Regions from separate parts of the Homo sapiens genome. Here all the other regions are linked to region 1. Evidence: promoter capture Hi-C in 16 types of primary human blood cells and fetal thymus (Javierre and others, 2016). All regions are on one chromosome and are shown on one strand. Each heading gives the region's core, a stretch centred on a gene start or on the middle of the fragment in contact. The rest is flanking DNA. Distances are from core to core; before and after follow the strand shown. Region 1 holds the start of DRAM1 (DNA damage regulated autophagy modulator 1). Region 2 overlaps NUP37 (nucleoporin 37). Region 3 overlaps GNPTAB (N-acetylglucosamine-1-phosphate transferase subunits alpha and beta).

Region 1 (4,325 bases), core at 847-3,346:
GCTTTTGTGGTTTTTAAAAAGCCTTATTTTAAATTTTCTATTTTGTTTTGTATGGCGGGCACTCACTCCACGGCCACAGTGATCTCTTGAAATACTAGTCTGCCCATGTTCTTACTTTCTCCTTAATACCAAAAATAATCCAAGATTCTCAGCAGGACTCTGGTGACTTTGCCTCTTTGTTTCTCTCTCCATTTGCTGCCTCACACTTATTTAAGTGCTTTCATAGTCCCAGGGAAGCAAGCTCTGTGTATGCATTTCCTCCAGTTGTTTTCTGGGCCTGGAATGCTAATCTTATTTTTCTTTGCCTGGTTAGTAATTACTTCCTTTTGAAAACTCTGATGTCATCTGTCAGAAAACCTCCGTGGTCCTTCCTCTGAGCCCAGGCCCCTGGCCCTCAGCTCTGGGCATGTCTCTACTTTTTAAAATCCTCTCCTTTCCATTTAATAAACCACATAACATAATTTTGTTTTTATTTATTTATATTTTTGAGACAGAGTCTCGTTCTCTCACCCAGGCTGAAATGCAGTGGTGTGATCTCAGCTCACTGAGAAAACCTCCATTTCCCAGGTTCAAGCGATTCTCCTGCCTCAGCCTCCTGAGTAGCTGGGATTACAGGCGTGAGCCATGATGCCTGACTAATTTTTTGTATTTTTAGTAGAGATGGGGTTTCACCATGTTGGCCAGGCTGGTCTCGAACTCCTGACCTCAGGTGATCCACCCACCTTGGCCTCCCAAAGTGCTAGGATTACAGGCATGAGCCACCACGCCTGGCCTAATTTTGTTATTTTGATCTATGAGTGTCCTCGTCCTGAGGGTACTATTACTATTTCATCTTTGTAGCCTAGCATGGCGCCCATGAAATGTGTTTGTGGCTGAAAGGAACCTATCTTTGGTCACCAATGACCCAACAATTTTGGCCACATATGTTGGGCTCAGACTCCCTAAACTATCAAAATCATGTGCTTATATTATAAGTGCCTCCAGAACACAAATCCCTTTCACAGGGCTTGAAATGTATCAAGTCACTATTAATCATCTTAGGCCAAGGCTCCGAGTCTGGGCTACTCCAGAACCTGGAGGGGAGTTTTTTTTGTTTTTTTTTTGTTTGTTTGTTTTTTGAGACAAGGTCTTGCTCTGTCACCCAGGCCGAGTGAAGTGGTGTGATAAAGGCTCACTGCAGCCTCGACCCCCAAGGCTCAAGTGATCATCCCAACTCAGTCTCCCGAGTAACTGGAACCGGCTTTTTTTCTTTTTCATTTTTTTTTTTTTTTTTTGTAGAAGAGGGGTTTCGCTATGTTACCCAGGCTGATCTCTAGTTCTTGGGTTCAAGCGATCCTCCCAACTCGGCCTCCCAAAGTGGTGGCATTCCAGGGGTGATGGCTTTTGGATGCCTCCCAAAGTGATGGCTATTCACGGCGCCCGGCCTGGGAAATCTTATTTCCAGGAAATATTCTCCAGTTGCGCTCTCCTGGAAAGCAGCACAATGGGCCTCCCGGCTCCGTGGGCGCGCAGTCCCACCCGCCTGCCCCGCACCCCACCCGCGTACTCTCCACCCCACCCGTTCCCACCCTGTCTGGGTTTTCGGGTGTTCACCATTGAGGTGGGAGCCACATCTGCGCCCCGTGACCTGGCGAACCTCATTGAACACTTCTGCCCGACCCCCGCAGCAGCAGCGCGACCGGATGGCATGGGTGTCACCACGCGGTGGCCACTCTCACTGCTGCGAAGCGCCGGCGGCGGGACCTCGGAGGGGGCGCCCTCGGGGTGCGAGGCCCGGCACTCCGGAAATCCCCCGGGAGGGAGGGGTTGGGAGAAATAAATCCTTTTCTCCAGAGTTGCGCAAGAGCCAGCGCGGTAGGGCCAGAGTGGGAAGGCCAGAGCGGGCGTCCCCGCCAGTGACCCCACGCCGCCCGTCCGCGCCCAACCCGGCCTCCGCCGAGTGTCCAAACCAAAAGCGAAAGGAACCCGACCCCGCGTCCCCTCCGGCGGCTCCGTAGTCGCGTCCGCTTGGAGCTCGCCGGGCGCCTCCGACCCTGCCGGGCCGCTTTGTGACTTCACTCGTTTCGCAACAAGCCCGGGCAGCCCGCGCCCCACCCACTCTGGCCCGGCAGCCTCGCCGCCCGCAGCCTCGCTCCGCTCCTCGCGCTTCCCCTCCCTCCGGGGCTGGGCCTGCCCCGGCCGTCGCGGAGCCTCCCCTCCCACCGTCCGTGAGTGTACGCGCCCGGCCGCCGCCTCCAGGCAGCCCGGAGCAACCCGGCGCCCGGCCCCGCTGGGCGCAGCACTCCGTCGGCGGCGGCGGCGGCGCGATGCTGTGCTTCCTGAGGGGAATGGCTTTCGTCCCCTTCCTCTTGGTGACCTGGTCGTCAGCCGCCTTCATTATCTCCTACGTGGTCGCCGTGCTCTCCGGGCACGTCAACCCCTTCCTCCCGTATATCAGGTGAGTGGCAGGGTGGGCGTCAGGGCCCCAGGAGCAGGCACAGGGACCACAGGGAGCGCTGCCGACGGGGAGGGAAGGCGTCCGGACCCAGCTTGGGGCGTCGTGTGGTCAGGCAGAGGTGGGAGCAGGAGGAGAGGTGCTCCCGATAGCCTGGGATGTTTAGGGAGGCAGCGGGTGCGGCGCTGAGCACTTCTGCCTGTACCCGGAGCATGGAACAGGGTGGCAGCAAGGAGAGGTTCAGGATAGATGGTAGAGCTTTCATTCTGGGTATGGGACAGAATCTCAGCAGGACGTTCTTAGGCGATATTGAAACAAGATGGGTTCTGATAGATGACATATATTATACAAGAGGTAGATCCAGGTATATGCTAAACAGCCACTATTTTCACTTCTGCATCCCAACATCCCTTGAAGTGGATGTTTGGGCTTATTATTCCCGCAAGCGAGCGGTGGTGTAAAGTTGATGAAATATCATCAACGTGACACTGATGTCACACTAGTTAATGGTAGGAGCAGAATTCACACCCGGCCATGCAGAAAGCAACACTGTGCTGCCCCCAGGTCTCTGGGAGTCTGGCTTAAATTCTCTGGAGCTGCACCAGACACCTCTGGGCACTGTGACCCCAAAGTCCTCAACTTGTCAACAACTTGTGACATCTTTTGTGTTATTTTACCCATTCACTTTTCCTGTGCTTTGGCCTCTACCTTCCTGAGGGGCACTTCAGTGCCAGGGACAGTGGTCTGATCCTCCTATGTGGGTTCCAGCTCAGTGCCTTTCTCATAGTGGCAGGATTCTTTAAACGTTAGAACCATCCATCCTTATCTAAGTAGTGTGACCCCTCTGGACAGGCATTGGTTGGTGAACGGATGATAAGGTTGGTGACACCCAAGGTTTGTTACTGCTATGATAGAAAATGTAGGGCGTCTTCTTCCCTGCAGCCATTCTGTCTGGTGAGCAATGTTCTGTGTTTTTTTGTTTGTTTGTTTGTTTTTTTCCTTTTTTTGGGGGTGGGGGTGAGGAGTGTGGAGAAAGGGGAAACAAAGATCGAGCAAGAGGGGACTAGCATTTTTTAAAATTTTTTTTATTTTTTTGAGACAGAGTCTTGTTCTGTCGCCCAGGCTGGAGTGCAGTGACACAATCTCGGCTCACCGCAACCTCTGCCTCCCGGGTTCAAGCGATTCTCCTGCCTCAGCCTCCCAAGTAGCTGAGATTACAGGCGTGCACCACCACACCTGGCTTAATTTTTTTGTATTTTTAGTAGAGACAGGGTTTCACTATGTTGGTCAGGCTGGTCTCAAATTCCTGACCTCAAGTGATCCTCTTGCCTTGGCCTCCCAAAATGCTAGGATTACAGGTGTGAGCCAGTGTTCCCAGGGAACCAGCATTTACAAGATGCAGGGAATACAGCAATAGGTAGAATAGTGCAAATTTGCAGTAATGATGGTGGTTTTTGCCTATGAAAGGAGATGTTATGTATATCAAGATGTTCTCATCTGGCCTTTCGGTTTTTTCCATTTATTGTTATTATTTTTTATTTTCAGTAGAGACAAAGTCTCACTATATTGCCCAGGCTGGTCTTAAACTCCTGGGCTCAAGCATTCCCCTTGCTTTGGCCTCCCAGAGTGTTGGGATTACAGGCGTGAGCCACCACGCCTGGCCCTCCCATCTGGTATTATGCTTGGAAGAAACCTAGGCTTGGTTTCTCATGGCACATCTCAGGCCCAAGTGCCATCATCTTGCTTCTGAAGCAGGATAGATCCTTCTAGACTTGTGTAAAAGTAAAGACCTGCTCAGCTGGGCACAGTGGCTCACGCCTGTAATCCCAGCACTTTGGGAGGCCGAGGCTGGCGGATCATGAGGTCAAGAGATCGAGACCATCCTGGCCAA
Region 2 (4,325 bases), core at 723-3,222, 190 kb after region 1:
GAACTTATTTGGTTAGACGGTTTCCACCTTTCCATCTTCTTTATCACTATGGTATAATTTATCATTAGTTGCGTCTGGCTTACTTTAGAGGTCAGTTGTCTGGAACTTCCTTCCTTTTACGCTGTCTCAAAAACAAAGATTTCCTAAAACAGTATTAGCAAGCTCTTACTTGAGATGGTTGCAAAGATTAACCTTAGTTTTGGCCAGGGTTTAATCCTGTCTGAATTTGGCTCAATTATAGGACAACAGCTGTGTTTGTAAGATCAAAGTTTTATGTTCAACCACCATTAGAAGCACAGATACCAGCAGCATTTATTGTCTTTTACTACATAGAAATAGAAACTTAACTCATTACAGCATTATAAATGCAGTTGGTAGAAATCAGTATTTCATAAATCTTTAAATCAAATTGTTTGTAAAGGCTGAGAAACCTGGTAGTCTCCCCATTACTTACTATTGTTCATGTGGATTTTATAAGCTTACATTAAGTGTTACAAGTCCCAAGGTAAAGTATCCTGTTAAAAATCAGTTAAAAAGGCAAATAGCTGTATAACAAAGACATAAGTTACACAGAAATAAGCTGATCCAAGGAAATTTTCAGACAGACAAACGTCACTTGACCCTACATAAGGGCAACAATTTTTTTTTATTAAGGTAGTTCAAAGAACAGATGAAAATGTCAGAAAGTAGACTAAATGCTTTTGATTTTCCATGAAATCTATGCCCAATGCATGCAAAAGGGCTTATGAGTTTGAGTAATGGATATATCATAACGTGTTTTTTAGCTTTTGTGAAATGAGATCTTCAAAGCTGATACACTAATTATTTTGTTGTGTTACTGTGATTAGGTAACAAATGGTTGCTATAAATTAAAGCCATGTTAATAAAAAAAGTTCTACCCACATTTTAAAAGGCATTATTTTTTAAATGTATTAGAAACAAATGTTAATTGTTTTGAAATTCTTTTCAAATGCCTGTTAAATGTTTTTGAATCAACAAGGTGTTAAAATTAAAGAAACTGAGTGTTCTCTCCTGTCCTTGTTGCTGAGCACACTGTTTGATAAAGATATATTGGAACACAATGCTGCTTCTGAGGACTTGACCAAGCTCTCATGAGGAGTATGTGGAAATGGATCATAATTATCATTTTTATTTGGCAAATTTTATTTAGGCTCAGAGCTAAGGCTATTATTACTTGTATGGTATAAAGTTGGGTTAAACTGAGTTTAACTTTTTGAGGTATAGAAAAACATGGAAAATAGTGTAGAGTGAGAACTTTTTCTCTCCTAAAAACTATTAAAATCAGTCTTGGGCACAATACTGCCTCATAACTTCCCAATCAGCGTTTCTGGGACAATGTCAGATTTTAGACAATTACAGAAAACCAGACACAAATGTGCAAACCAGATTTCAATTTCTTCTCCACTGACATGAGATTTAAAACAGCAACAGAAACATTTCTAGGTCAGTGTCAATATGTAGTCACAAATTACCAAAGTAAGAAACAAATTGGAGTGCATGGGTGTGTGATTTTGTGTTTTGGCATGGGAGAGATATTGAAATATTCATAACGTAGAAGCCAAATCATAAAAATGAAATGGGACTTATGATCCCATCATCATTCTGAAAATGTAGGATTTAGCTCTGACATCTTGCAGATTTGTGATATCCTGACTTTTGTTTGCTTCAATAGTCCTAAATAATACAAGTTTTAGAACATAAGTACAACTTTTTTCTCTTTGATGTTTTAAGTGAAGCAATCCTGAGGAAAACTTAAATTTCAACAGAAGAAAAACCATCTTAGACATATTTATAAACAAACATGGAAAAACTAAAACTGGGACATACACACAATGTGAAATATCTCATATTATCATCAGGAATTAGAAGTGATGACCAATAACTAATTCCTCATAAATACTTCCTCCTGTCTTAGTGTAATATAAACATATTTCGAAGAACAAAGTTTACTAAGAAAAAAACAACATTATACGATTTTAAAATAATTAAACACAATAAAGTTTAACAACAAAGTATAAGTTGGAACATGGTCCTGTAGCCTACTTTTAAGATCTAAAAAAAGAAAAAGAGGTTAGAGTTCTCAATGCTTACATAGGATAAAGTACATTTCACTCCTGAAACTAACAGGTAAAGGCAACCCTCTCATTTCTTGAGAATGTCTTATCTTACAGTCACTATATTAATCCACAAATGGAATCACTATTTTCTTCTGAGGATAACACTTCCTGCCTCTTTTTGGCATAACAGTATACAATCATCATGAGTTATCTTTTCCCAAAACAGCTTCCCCTACTAAAAGATAGAAGTTCTATTGGGTATTTTTTTTTTTTTTTTGAGATGGAGTCTTGCTCTGTCACCCAGGCTAAAGTGCAGTGGTGTAATCTTGGCTCACCACCACCTCTGCCTCCAGGGTTCAAGCGATTCTCATGGCTCAGCCTCCCAAGTAGCTGGGATCATAGGCACGTGCCATCACGTCCTGCTAATTTTGTTTTTGTATTTTTAGTAGAGGTGGGTTTTCAACATGTTGGCCAGGCTGGTTTTGAACTCCTGACCTCAAGTGATCCGCCCACCTCGGCCTCCCGAAGTGTTGGGATTACAGGCATGAGCCACTGCGCCCAGCCCTACTGGGTAATTTCATCAGACAACTTTTATATTTTGGTTAAGCCCTTATTCCAGAGAATCCATTTCTTATATACCCAAGCCCAACATAATCATCTCCTTAATTTCCATCCCTAAATAAAACCCACCCACTTCATGCATCAATTTTTCTAAGTATATGACAACAATTTTTGAACACACTAGCCTTAGAGATGATTTTTATATTTCTTGGACATATCCTGAAATGACAAATTCTTGTAAGAGTCACTATTGATAGCCCTTTGGCTATCCTGATGCTTTTAGGAATCCTTGCCCCATCACAGAGATTCTTAAAGAGAACCATGTCAAAATTCCTTGCTCTTTGCTTTTTCCTTTGTTAGTTCAAAATCTTCTTATGAAGGGGTAAACAAAACAATTTATATCATTTGGTTATAATATTTAACTGTATTAAAAAATTGACTAGGAAATTGCTATAAAATTTTTCATCTGTACTTTAAAGCATGTAAAAGTTGAACCCAAACATCTACATGGTTATAAAATTTCACTGAATTCTTTCTTTTAATTACCTGGAACATTCTCCTATCTCTTAAAAATATAATGTTCTTGATTCTACAATTATTTTAAGACACCTTAAGAATAGAAAACTGGAGTAAAAAATATTTACTGGCATTAAACATAAATCTCTAAAACCTCAAAAATAAGACCTACTCATCTCTGAAATAAATAATTTCTATACATCTCTGAACCACGTGACAGACACATACTAGGTATTTTCATTCACCTTTATTTAATCTTTACAGCAACTCCACAAAATAATGATTCCTATCTGTACTTTACAAGAGGAAATGAAGCTTCAAAAAGGGCATTAACTTGCAGGAATGGGCAGTTTGTCAAAATGTATTGGATTCTGTATGTGACTGACAAGCAGAACCATAATTTTATATGCTTCTGACTGTACCATGATGTATCCCAAAAATGTGATACAGCTGTCTTAGATAACGTTGATTTTAATGATCTTTGAGAGGGTGAACACAGTTCCATTGCCAACAGGTCCCATCTCAAAAACACTTAAGTTTCTTGGTAAGAACAGTGAAAATTCACAAAAAGGAGGCTGTTAAAGGTATACACTAGAAGTCATTTTTCAAGGTAACTTTTGATCCCATATATCAGATGTTCTAAGACTGTTAGAACACCTCGTCCAAAGGAATCTGCGTATAATAAACAGGGTTGAGCAATATAATCAATCACATATTTAAGAAACTGAAAACAATTTTTTACATTAAATTGAGTACACATACACATATATATACTCAACAACCACTTCCAGAATACCCTAAGATATTTTTTTCTCCTTGGATTTTTTTTCTTTTGAGATAGTCTCGCTCTGTCGCCCAGGCTGCAGTGAAGTGGCACGATCTTGGCTCACTGTAACCTCTGCCTTCCAGGTTCAAGTGATTCTCCTGCCTCAGTCTTCCAAACCATGCTTGGCTAATTTTTTTTATTTTTATTTTTTTAGTAGAGATAGGGTTTCACCATGTTGGCCAGGTTGGTCTTGAACTCCTCACCTCAAGTGATCCACTCCCTTCAGCCTCCCAAAGTGTTGGGATTACAAGTGTGAGCCATTGTACCTGGCCTTTTTTTCTCTTTTGATAAATGTGTCCCTGAGAATTAGAAAAACAGCATATACTCAAAGTATAGAAAACAGG
Region 3 (4,325 bases), core at 1-2,500, 130 kb before region 1:
ACGTGAAATCATAGCATTCTTAGGGGCTGAAGTCAATAATTACAAAGCATTTCAGATGTCAATCATTGAGCTCTTCAGTAGTTAGTGGTTTAAGACCATTTACAGTCTTAAATATTAATAAAACTCATAATTTAGGTATTGTCAATAAGAGGTGATATTGCTGCATTATTTAAATAACATCTATAAAAATAGGTTTAGACATCCCAATTCGTTATACTCAGAAGCAAGAATAACTAGTTAACTTAGTAACTACTTAAAAATGGGAAATGAAAAAAAAAAAGTGCAAAACTTTAGCAAAAGGCTTTGGAATGCAAAGACTGGAGCCTCTTAGCAATCACTCCCAGCTGGCATAGGCTTCTCCTAATAAAGTTAGTCTGCAATGATTGCTGTGGGAAATTAACAGCTGTCTCTTGTCAGTGAGCCTTTTTATAAAAAGGATGACAGGTCCATGAGCAAATTCTTTAAAAGTAAAATCAGTTCAGAGCTGCTCAACACACAAGTTTTCAGTGGGTTGGTTAAATAATTCCTGGTCAGTGGGCTATATTCATGCCACAAAACAGCATGGTACTGGATATTTTCCTTCTTCGGGCCAAACTGCTAAGCATCACATCACAAAGACATCTCTGTGAAGCTGAGTTTTAAAATGCTCAGTAAATGCTGAGGTAGATGGTTTTCAAATGAAGATCTTCTATACTCTGATTCGATTGGGACTAGCTTCTTTGTGTATCCTCCTTCTGGGAAATATCTTCCGCTTAAGTGCAATTAACTAAATGATGAAAGACAGAAAATACATTTTAATTCTCACGTTGATGAAAGAATATAAGTGCATCAAACTTTCTAAGAGCCATATGACCTTAATCATTTCCACAATCTTATACATTAAAAAGACAACAAACAAATCTCCATCATTCCTCTTCCAAAACAAAAACAAATATTAGTTTTGTTTAGCTTTGTAGGGACAGTATGCCTAGATATGTGCCCACAAAGAGACCCAAGAGGATTAAAATTATTTCGGCCCATGCTTCATTTTTCTAAGACCTACAACTACAGATTTTTACACAGCTATTACCAAAGCATATTTATTTTCAAGATGTCCATTTGTCAAGTCTTTCTATTGAAGGAAACTGGCTCTATTTAGCCATAAGACACTGTCTCTGGGTTGATATGATGGCTTATTCCTTCATCTGTAGGAGGAGGCAGGGCTTTGCCCAAACATAAGACACCACGGTTTGAATGATGAGCTGGAATTTGGGAGGGGAGGAAGAGGCAGCATTGGCTGCTTTGTTTGTGAAGGTGGCAGGTATGGCAGGAGGAAGGAGTTTGACTCCAGTAGAGAGCAGAGTGTTGGGATTTAACCTGCCCTTCCCTTCCCTCTTCCTGCCTCTCTAGTTCCCTATTCTCTACTGGTATAGATAGACTGGTATAGATAGAGGAAAGACTGCCTCTCTAGTTCCCTATTCTCTACTGGTATAGATAGAGGAAAGACTGACACTCCTCTTCCTTTCCATTAATGGCTGCTCCTTTGAGTCAGGGCTCCTTTCCTTCCCCATCCTAGGTCAGCACAGCAGACTCAAAGGTTTCTCACTGGACCCTGTTCTAAAAGCAGGTACAGCCTTTCTGAGATTTTTCATAAGACTTTTACCTGCCAGGAACAATGGTAACAGACATCAAGAACAAGATGTACAATCCCTGGAAAGCAGATGAAGGTTAAGTTGCTGTCCTGTTCACCTGCCCAGTCTCTGTTTCCTGAATTTCCTTCCATTTACAGCAAGAAGCCCATTCATTTATCCTGAAGCTCTCAGTACTTAGGTGCTTGTCCTTCTTGGTATAAGTCAACTTGGTGTACGTTTCATTTGAGTGACAGCTAGAAAAGCTCCACTCAATAGTCACCTTGATTGGAGGCAGAGGCCAAGTCACTTGCCACACCCAAGTCAGGTTGGTAAAGATGCCCATTCCCCTCCTTCAATCCTTTTTCTTCAGAGTATTTGATATGTGAATAGCCTAATGAGGACTCTCTTATCCCTTTCTCTTTACCTCACAAATCTCCCTCCGACTTCTGGACACTCACCTCAAGGAGGCTGCGTGTGTACATGCATGCAGAGGAAAGCCCAGGTGTAGAGGGGCTGACAAGGAGAGGAGGAAGGAGGAGAGAGGAGGGAGAACTCCTAGCGATTGAAAGAAAGATAAATGGGAGCTACTGGTGTGAGTGGGACAACACAACGGAACCGTGGGATGTCTGAAGACACTGTGCTCACTCAAGGAAGCGTGAAAGAGAGGAAGAAAATTGGAGACCCATAGAAAATTAACATTAGATAAGGATTCTAGATGGTTTTTTGGTTATAAATACTTAGAGCTACTTGGTTTTAGCCTGATATCTACAAGTTAATCTGTTGAGTTCCAGATAAAAAGAATACTGGTAATGGATTTAGAAGAGAAATGAATAAAAGACTGTTATATTTGCTGCCTGAATATTGTGAAACATATTTAACATATTCACATATGAGCTATAAGACAATAAGAGAAGTTAAAATTTTGATTGTAAATGTGTATCATTTTCTAAAACATTCAGATGCTAGTATACCAAGAAATACCATTTAATACCCACATAAAATATATAAAACTTACCTGCTCAGCAAAAAATGAGAATATAGTAAACATAATCAATGTTGCTAGTACACAATGGGTCCAAAACTTCAATTTGTCTCGATAAGCCCTCCTGTGCAGAGAGAAGAAAGCAACTATGTACTTCTGTATATGGTTTCACTACCATTAGTTAAGCATTATTTATATACTAGTTCTATAAAAACAATGTTGGGAAACACAAAAACATTGTCTTGCAATTCTAAAATGCTCACACAATATACATTTCCAACACGAGTTCAGATTTTTTATTATGTCATAGTAAATATTATACTTGAATTAGTGAAGTTATCCAGGCAGGAGAGAGGACTTCAAAAGAAAATTACTTCTGGCACTTAAACAAAACCACTCTTTCATTCATTTTTATTCACTCATACTTATTTATTCACTCAGTTTCTTGATAAATACTTCCTGCGTATATGGAGAGATGAACAAGATGAAGTCCCTGCTTTTAAGTGTTTAGAAAACTGAGGCGTTGCTGACATGCTGACTGATGACTTGCCATCACATAAGACACAGAAATATGCATTATCAAAAGCAAAGTCATGTGAAAAACTTAGAGAAATGAGGACAGTGCCACAGAGATGGTGGCATTTCCTGTAAGCCTTGAAGGGGACAGGAAGCATATGGATGAGAAAGAGAAGGAGCAGTAGAGTGGCACGGTGGCCAGCTGGGCCCTACAGGACTGAGTGGAGTGAATCCATGCGGCAGCATGGGGGGAACTAAGCCAGGTGAAGGCGAGAGGGTATGAACTGCAGCTGCTTTGCAAAACCACACCGTGGGGTCTGGACAGAACACTCTAGTGGGAAAGTGGATGAAACAGACAGGTGGGGGTATGTGTGACATAATCAGGGTAAACATGTTGGCCATTTGAAGGATGGACAAACAAGGAAGGCAGGCAGTTTAGTTTTAGTCCAGGCATGAAAGGAAGCAGTGACAATGAAAAGAAATAAGCAACAGAAGAGACATTCCTGAGGTAGAATCAACTGGACCTGGAGCCAAGAGAATACTGAGGATAAAAAGAGGCAGTACAGCCATTTCCTCATCTGTAATTTGGAAATAATGAACAATTGGTTACGAAGATTAAATAAAAATGCTTACCATAGGTTTGGAAGATATGCTAGTAACTACCAAACTCTGGCCTCTGTGCTGAGTTACAGATTCTCATTTTCCACTGTTTGGGCGTCTCTACCTCAAGTCACACATCCAAAACGGCACTCGCCCACACACAGCTCTTCCCCCTGTATTTCCCACTTCTGTTAATAGGATCATAACCAGCTCTGTCAACTAATGTCTAGTGTCAGTGCAGTGAGAGACAATGCAGAACTAAGCAGGATGAGGAGCAAGCAACCTCCAGGGCAGGGGAATGACTGCAAGAGCACCCACACCTGATTCACACCATTTGTACAGCACAGAAATCAAGGTCCTCTCAAATTACTTTTAAGCCCACTTCTTTCTTATTCAAATGGACCCTTGAGGGTAAATTTAGTCACAAATTGAATTTGGGGAGTTAACACTTAGAACCACCTAAAGATCTTTTTCCTCTGAGTTAAGGGAAAGTGAAAACGGTGAGAAGCCATTCCTTGCCATTTCTGGGAGACAAGACCCATGATTCAGTAATAACTTCTCCTTATGAAAATAAAAACATAAAGATAGCAGCAATATTCATCCTAATTGTCTCATTT

What was found. The method cuts DNA at HindIII sites, captures the fragments that hold promoters and counts their contacts. A CHiCAGO score of 5 or more calls a contact.
Region 2: a fragment that was not itself captured here is called in contact with the fragment with the promoter of DRAM1 in region 1 in 1 of 17 cell types (neutrophils); the score reaches 5.7 in neutrophils.
Region 3: a contact is called between a fragment that was not itself captured here and the fragment with the promoter of DRAM1 in region 1, in 1 of 17 cell types (neutrophils). The highest score is 6.2, in neutrophils.

The regions. Positions count from the first base shown.
Region 1 is chr12:101,875,484-101,879,808 of GRCh38, forward strand. DRAM1 (DNA damage regulated autophagy modulator 1) reads left to right here and starts at 2,097. Exons shown (of 7, transcript NM_018370.3): 1 at 2,097-2,437. The coding sequence starts at 2,307. RefSeq lists enhancers at 1,501-2,283, 2,074-2,123, 2,284-3,065, 2,704-2,793, 2,934-2,983 and silencers at 1,734-1,893, 2,144-2,483. The HindIII fragment of the contact is 18,310 bases long and covers 1-4,325 here.
Region 2 is chr12:102,069,716-102,074,040 of GRCh38, forward strand. It overlaps NUP37 (nucleoporin 37), which reads right to left. Exons shown (of 10, transcript NM_024057.4): 10 at 3,388-4,325. Among named protein-coding and RNA genes, the nearest start is that of WASHC3, 9.9 kb to the left of the region's middle. The HindIII fragment of the contact is 2,992 bases long and covers 477-3,468 here.
Region 3 is chr12:101,746,476-101,750,800 of GRCh38, forward strand. It overlaps GNPTAB (N-acetylglucosamine-1-phosphate transferase subunits alpha and beta), which reads right to left. Exons shown (of 21, transcript NM_024312.5): 20 at 2,626-2,716; 21 at 1-766. The coding sequence ends at 689. Among named protein-coding and RNA genes, the nearest start is that of SYCP3, 9.2 kb to the left of the region's middle. The HindIII fragment of the contact is 9,825 bases long and covers 1-4,325 here.